Linked DNA regions of Homo sapiens: region 1 is linked to region 2. The links are contacts of gene promoters, found by promoter capture Hi-C in blood cells and fetal thymus (Javierre and others, 2016). All regions are on one chromosome and are shown on one strand. Each heading gives the region's core, a stretch centred on a gene start or on the middle of the fragment in contact. The rest is flanking DNA. Distances are from core to core; before and after follow the strand shown.

Region 1 (2,700 bases), core at 123-2,622, 33 kb after region 2:
GTGTTTTTTTCGTAGAGATGGTGTTTCACTGCTGCCCAGGCTGCCCTTAAACTCCTGAGCTCAACAGATCCTCCCAGCTTGGCCTCCCAAAGTGCTGGGATTACAGGTGTGAGCCACCGCTGCACCCAGTCCCAAATTTTTTTTTTCTTTTTTTTTGAGACAGGGTCTTGCTCTGTCACCCAGCCAGGAGTGCAGTTATGCAATCATAGCTCACTGCAGCCTTCACCTCCCAGACTCAGGCGATCCTCCCACCTCAGCCTCTCGAGTAGCAGGGACTACACAGGCAGGTATCACTATGCCCGGCTAATTTTTAATTTGTACAGACAGGGCCTTGCTGTGTTGCCCAGGCTGGTCTCAAACTCCCGGGGGCTCAAGTGATCCTCTCGCCTCAGCCTCCGATAGTGCTGGCATTACAGGCGTGAGCCACCATGGCTGGCCAACTTTAATTATTTAAAAGCTTGGATGTTTCTTTAGACAACACCGTCCTCACTGTGAGAAAATGACCCTCCCATTAGGCCAGTTTCTGTACCACTACAACTAACAAAGTCTATTGCCGCTAAGAAATAAGCCTTAGCTTTGCTATTTATTTATTCATTTACTTAGAGATAGGGTTTTGCTCTGCACCCAGGCTGTTTTTTTTTTTTTTTTTTTGCAGACAGAGTTTCGCTCTTGTTGCCAAGGCTGGAGTGCAATGGTGCGATCTTGGCTCACCACAACCTCTGCCTCCTGGGTTCAAGCGATTCTCCTGCCTCAGCCTCCTGAATAGCTGGGATTACAGGCATGCGCCACCACGCCCCGCTAATTTTGCATTTTTAGTAGAGACGGGGGTTTCTCCATGTTGGTCAGGCTGGTCTTGAACTCCCGACCTCAGGTGATCCGTCCGCCTCGGCCTCCCAAAGTGCTGGGATTACAGGCGTGAGACACCGTGCCCTGCCTTACTTATTTATTTATTTAGAGACAGGGTCTCACTCTGTCACACAGGCTGGAGTGCAGTGGCGCAATCATAGCAAACTGCAGCCTCGACCTCCTGGCCTCAAGCGATCCTCGTGCCTCAGCCCCCAAAAGTGCTGGGATTACAGATGTGAGACTCCAAGTATGACAGCCTTAGTTCTTCTTTTTCTTTTTGAGATGGAGTTTCACTCTTGTTGCCAAAGCTGGAGTGCAATGGTGCAATCTTGGCTCACTGCAACCTTGACCTCCCGGGTTCAAGCGATTCTCCTGCCTCAGCCTCCCAAGCAGCTAGGATTACAGGCGTGTGCCACCACACGCAGCTAATTTTTATATTTTTAGTAGAAACAGGGTTTCACTACGTTGGCCAGGCTGGTCTCGAACTCCTGACCTCAGGTGATCTGCCTGCCTCGGCCTCCCAAAGTGCTGGGATTACAGGTATCAGCCATCATGCCTGGCCAGCTTTTCTAAACCACAGAGATCTGGGGATGTTTCCAACTGCAGCAGAATGTGGGCCACCACAAGACTACAACAGCCCAGAGGAGAAACAGCAGCATAGCAGCCATCGTACACGTCCATGGGCATGCACTTATGGGAGAAGGAAGGTGTGAGTTTAGGGTGGTGAATTTCTTCTCTTTTTTTTTTTTTTTTTTTTGAAATGGAGTTTCACTCTTGTTGCACAGCCTGGAGTGCAGTGGCACAATCTCAGCTCACTGCAACCTCCACCCACCAGGGTTCAAGCGATTCTGCTGCCTCAGTGTCCCAAGTAGCTGGGATAACAGGCACCTGCCACCAAGCCTGGCTAATTCTGTATTTTTGGTAGAGATGGGGTTTCACTATGTTGGCCAGGCTGGTCTCGAACTCCTGACCTCAGGTGATCCACCCACCTCGGCCTCCCAAAGTGCTGGGATTACAAGCATGAGCCACTGTGCCTGGCCATGTTCTTGTGGTTTTTGTTGGTGATTTTGCCATTGAAATTCCCCCAGACACCGAAATGCTGTCCAGGCTTCCTAAGTACCAAAAGGCTGCAATGGCTGGGCTCGGCGGCTCATGCCTGTAATCCCAGCACATTGGGAGCCGAGGCAGGAGGACTGCCCAAGGCCAGGAGTTCAAGACCAGCCTGGGCAATATAGTGAGACCCCCATCAGTACAAAAAAAATTTTAAATTAGCCCAGTGTAGCCTGTAGTCCCAGCTACTCAGGAGGCTGAGATTGGAGGATCACCTGAGCCCGGGAGGTCAAGGCTGCAGTGAGCTATGATCATGCCAAAAATAAAATACTTAAAAAAAAAAAAGTCTGTGATGCACCTCATGGAGAAAATCCATTATAGAGAAGCTTTATGCAGACGTGAGTTTCGGTGCTGTTGGCTGTGAGTTCAATGTAAATGAATCCACCATAGATATTAAATAAGGTGTTTTTAAACAAATGTACATAAAACAAGGTTGTATGAATTGGTGGATGAAAATGGTGTGGCCTGGGCCGGGCGCAGTGGCTCACACCTGTAATCCTAGCACTTTGGGAGGCCAAGGCGGGGGATCACTTGAGGTCAGGACTTTGAGACCAGCCTGGCCAACAAGGTGAAACGCTGTCTCTACTAAAAATACAAAATACAAATTAGCTGGTTATGGTGGCCCAAGCCTGTAGTCCCAGCTACTCAGCAGCAAGGGGTGCCGGCTGAGGCAGGAGAATCACTTGAATCTGGGAGGCAGAGGTTGCAGTGAGTCGAGATCATGCCACTTCACCCAGCCTGGGT
Region 2 (2,700 bases), core at 15-2,514:
CCTCCCAAAGCGCTGGGATTACAGGCATGAGCCACCACACCCGGTCTAATTTTTGCTTTTTTTTTTTTTTTGAGACGGAATCTCACTCTGTCACCCAGGCTGGAGTGCAGTGGCGCGGTCTCGGCTCACTGCAAGCTCCACCTCCCGGGTTCACGCCATTCTCCTGCCTCAGCCTCCCGAGTAGCTGGGACTACAGGTGCCCGCCACCACACCCGGCTAATTTTTTTTGTACTTTTAGTAGAGACGGGGTTTCACTGTGTTAGTCAGGATGGTCTCGATCTCCTGACCTTGTGATCCACCTGCCTCAGCCTCCCAAAGTGCTGGGATTACAGGCGTGAGCCACCACACCTGGCCAATTTTTGCATTTTTAGTAGAGATGGGGTTTCTCCATGTTGGCCAGACTGGTCTCGAACTCCTGACTTCAGGTGATCCACCCACCTTGACCTCCCAAAGCTTTGGGATTACAGGCGTGAGCCACCGTGCCCAGCCTATTTTTTATTTTTAGACACTAGGTCTTGCTCTGTCACCCAGGATGGAGTGCAGTAGTGCAGTCATTGTAGCCTCAACCTCCCAGGCTCAAGTGATCCTTCCATCTCAGCTGAGTAGCTGGGACTACAGGCTCATGACAACACCATGCCCAGCTAAGTTTTTAATTTTTTCATAGAGATGGGGTCTCACACTGTTGCCCAAGCTGCTCTCAAACTCCTGGTCTCAGGTGATCCTCCTGCCTCAGCCTCCCAAAGTGCTGAGATTACAGGCGTGAGTCACTGTCTGCTACATGGTTTTTTGGTTTTTTTTCTTTCTTTCTTTCTTTTTTTTTCTGAGATGGAGTCTCGCTCTGTCGCCCAGGCTGGAGTGCAGTGGCACAATCTCAGCTCACTGCAACCTCCGCCTCCTGGCTTCAAGCGATTCTCCTGCCTCGGCTGCCCAAGTAGCTGGGATTACAGGTGCCCACCACCACGCCTGGCTAATTTTTTTATTTTTTAGTACAGACAGGGTTTCACCATGTTGGCCAGGCTGGTCTCAAACTCCTGACCTCAGATGATCCTCCCACCTCTGCCTCTCAAAGTGCTGGGATCACAGGCGTGAGCCACCGTGCCCATCTGTTACGTGTTTTCTTAATGCGTTTGCGGCTCTCTCCTGAGAAGGGCCACACAGAGAGCCCTGCCCCCCGCCCTTAGAGGCCCCTCAGGTCAAGGTTTAGGCAGATTAGTGAAGTCCTAAGCTGGTTTTCTAAAGATTTCTATTTCTGGGAGAGGAGCCAGTCAGCAGACCGGGGACCACACGCCGCGCTGTCCCCAGCACCCAACCCAGGTTACCATGGCCTCCCTGTTCTCTGGCCGCATCCTGATCCGCAACAATAGCGACCAGGACGAGCTGGATACGGAGGCTGAGGTCAGTCGCAGGCTGGAGAACCGGCTGGTGCTGCTGTTCTTTGGTGCTGGGGCTTGTCCACAGTGCCAGGCCTTCGTGCCCATCCTCAAGGACTTCTTCGTGCGGCTCACAGATGAGTTCTATGTACTGCGGGCGGCTCAGCTGGCCCTGGTGTACGTGTCCCAGGACTCCACGGAGGAGCAGCAGGACCTGTTCCTCAAGGACATGCCAAAGAAATGGCTTTTCCTGCCCTTTGAGGATGATCTGAGGAGGTGAGGAGGGGCAGGGAGGGCTTCCTGGAGGAGGGGGCATGTTCGCTGAAAGTGAAGCATCCATTCTAACTAGAGTGAATGAGCAGCCCCTGTGTGCCAGTCCATATACTGGGAACTAGGGGGTACAGACAGGGGTGCCCACTTCCACATGCTGGCTTCCATGCCACCCCAGGGAGCTTAGAGCCGAGTGAGAGGAACAGATGCAAAAGACAGAATCAACTATGTAATAGCAAGGCCGGGCATGGTGGCTTAACCCTGTAATCCCAGGACTTTGGCAGGCCGAGGTGGGCAGATCACCTGAGGTCGGGAGTTTGAGACAAGCCTGGTCAACATAGTGAAACCCTGTCTCTACTAAAAATACAAAAATTATCCAGGCGTGGTGGTGGGCGCCTGTAATCCCAGCTGCTTGGGAGGCTGAGGCAGGAGAATCGTTTGAAACTGGGAGGCAGATGCTGCAGTGAGGTAAGATCGTGCCACTGCCCTCCAGCCTGGGTGACAGAGGGAGACTCTGTCTAAAAAATCAAAAAACAAATATATAATAGCGAATTGCAGTAGTGCTCAGAGGACAAAGCTAGGCCACAAAGTGGAAATACAATGAGGGAAACCTTGGTGAGGTTCCGGGGTCAGAGGATGCTTCCCCGAAAAAGTGGCTTTAAAGAGAGACCCCTAGCTGGGCACGGTGGCTCATGCCTGTAGTCCTAGCCACCTGGGAGGCTATGGTAAGAGGATAACTGGAGCCTAGAGTTTGAGGCTGCAGTGAGCTATGATCGCACCACTGCACTCCAGCCAGGGCAATACAGGTAGACCCTGTCTCTTAAAAAAGTAAGGCCAGGTACGGTGGCTCACACCTGTAAATCTAGCACTTTGGGAGGCCAAGGTGAGCAGATCACCTGAGGTCAGGAGTTCGAGACTAGCCTGACCAATATGGCAAAACCCTGTCTCTACTAAAAATACAAAAATTAGCCAGGCCTGGTGGCGCACAGCTGTGGTCCCAGCTACTTGCGAGGCTGAGGCAGGAGAATTGCTTGAATCCAGGAGGCGAAAGTTGCAGTGA

Evidence for each region. Contacts are between HindIII fragments. The CHiCAGO score rates a contact against its expected background, and 5 or more counts as called.
Region 1: a fragment that was not itself captured here is called in contact with the fragment with the promoter of NXNL1 in region 2 in 1 of 17 cell types (endothelial precursors); the score reaches 5.4 in endothelial precursors.

What each region holds. Positions count from the first base shown.
Region 1 is chr19:17,426,412-17,429,111 of GRCh38, reverse strand. No RefSeq gene overlaps it. Among named protein-coding and RNA genes, the nearest start is that of MVB12A, 7.7 kb to the right of the region's middle. The HindIII fragment of the contact is 1,825 bases long and covers 460-2,284 here.
Region 2 is chr19:17,459,490-17,462,189 of GRCh38, reverse strand. It overlaps NXNL1 (nucleoredoxin like 1), which reads left to right and starts at 1,264. Exons shown (of 2, transcript NM_138454.2): 1 at 1,264-1,646. The coding sequence starts at 1,321. RefSeq lists an enhancer at 858-1,358. The HindIII fragment of the contact is 2,658 bases long and covers 456-2,700 here.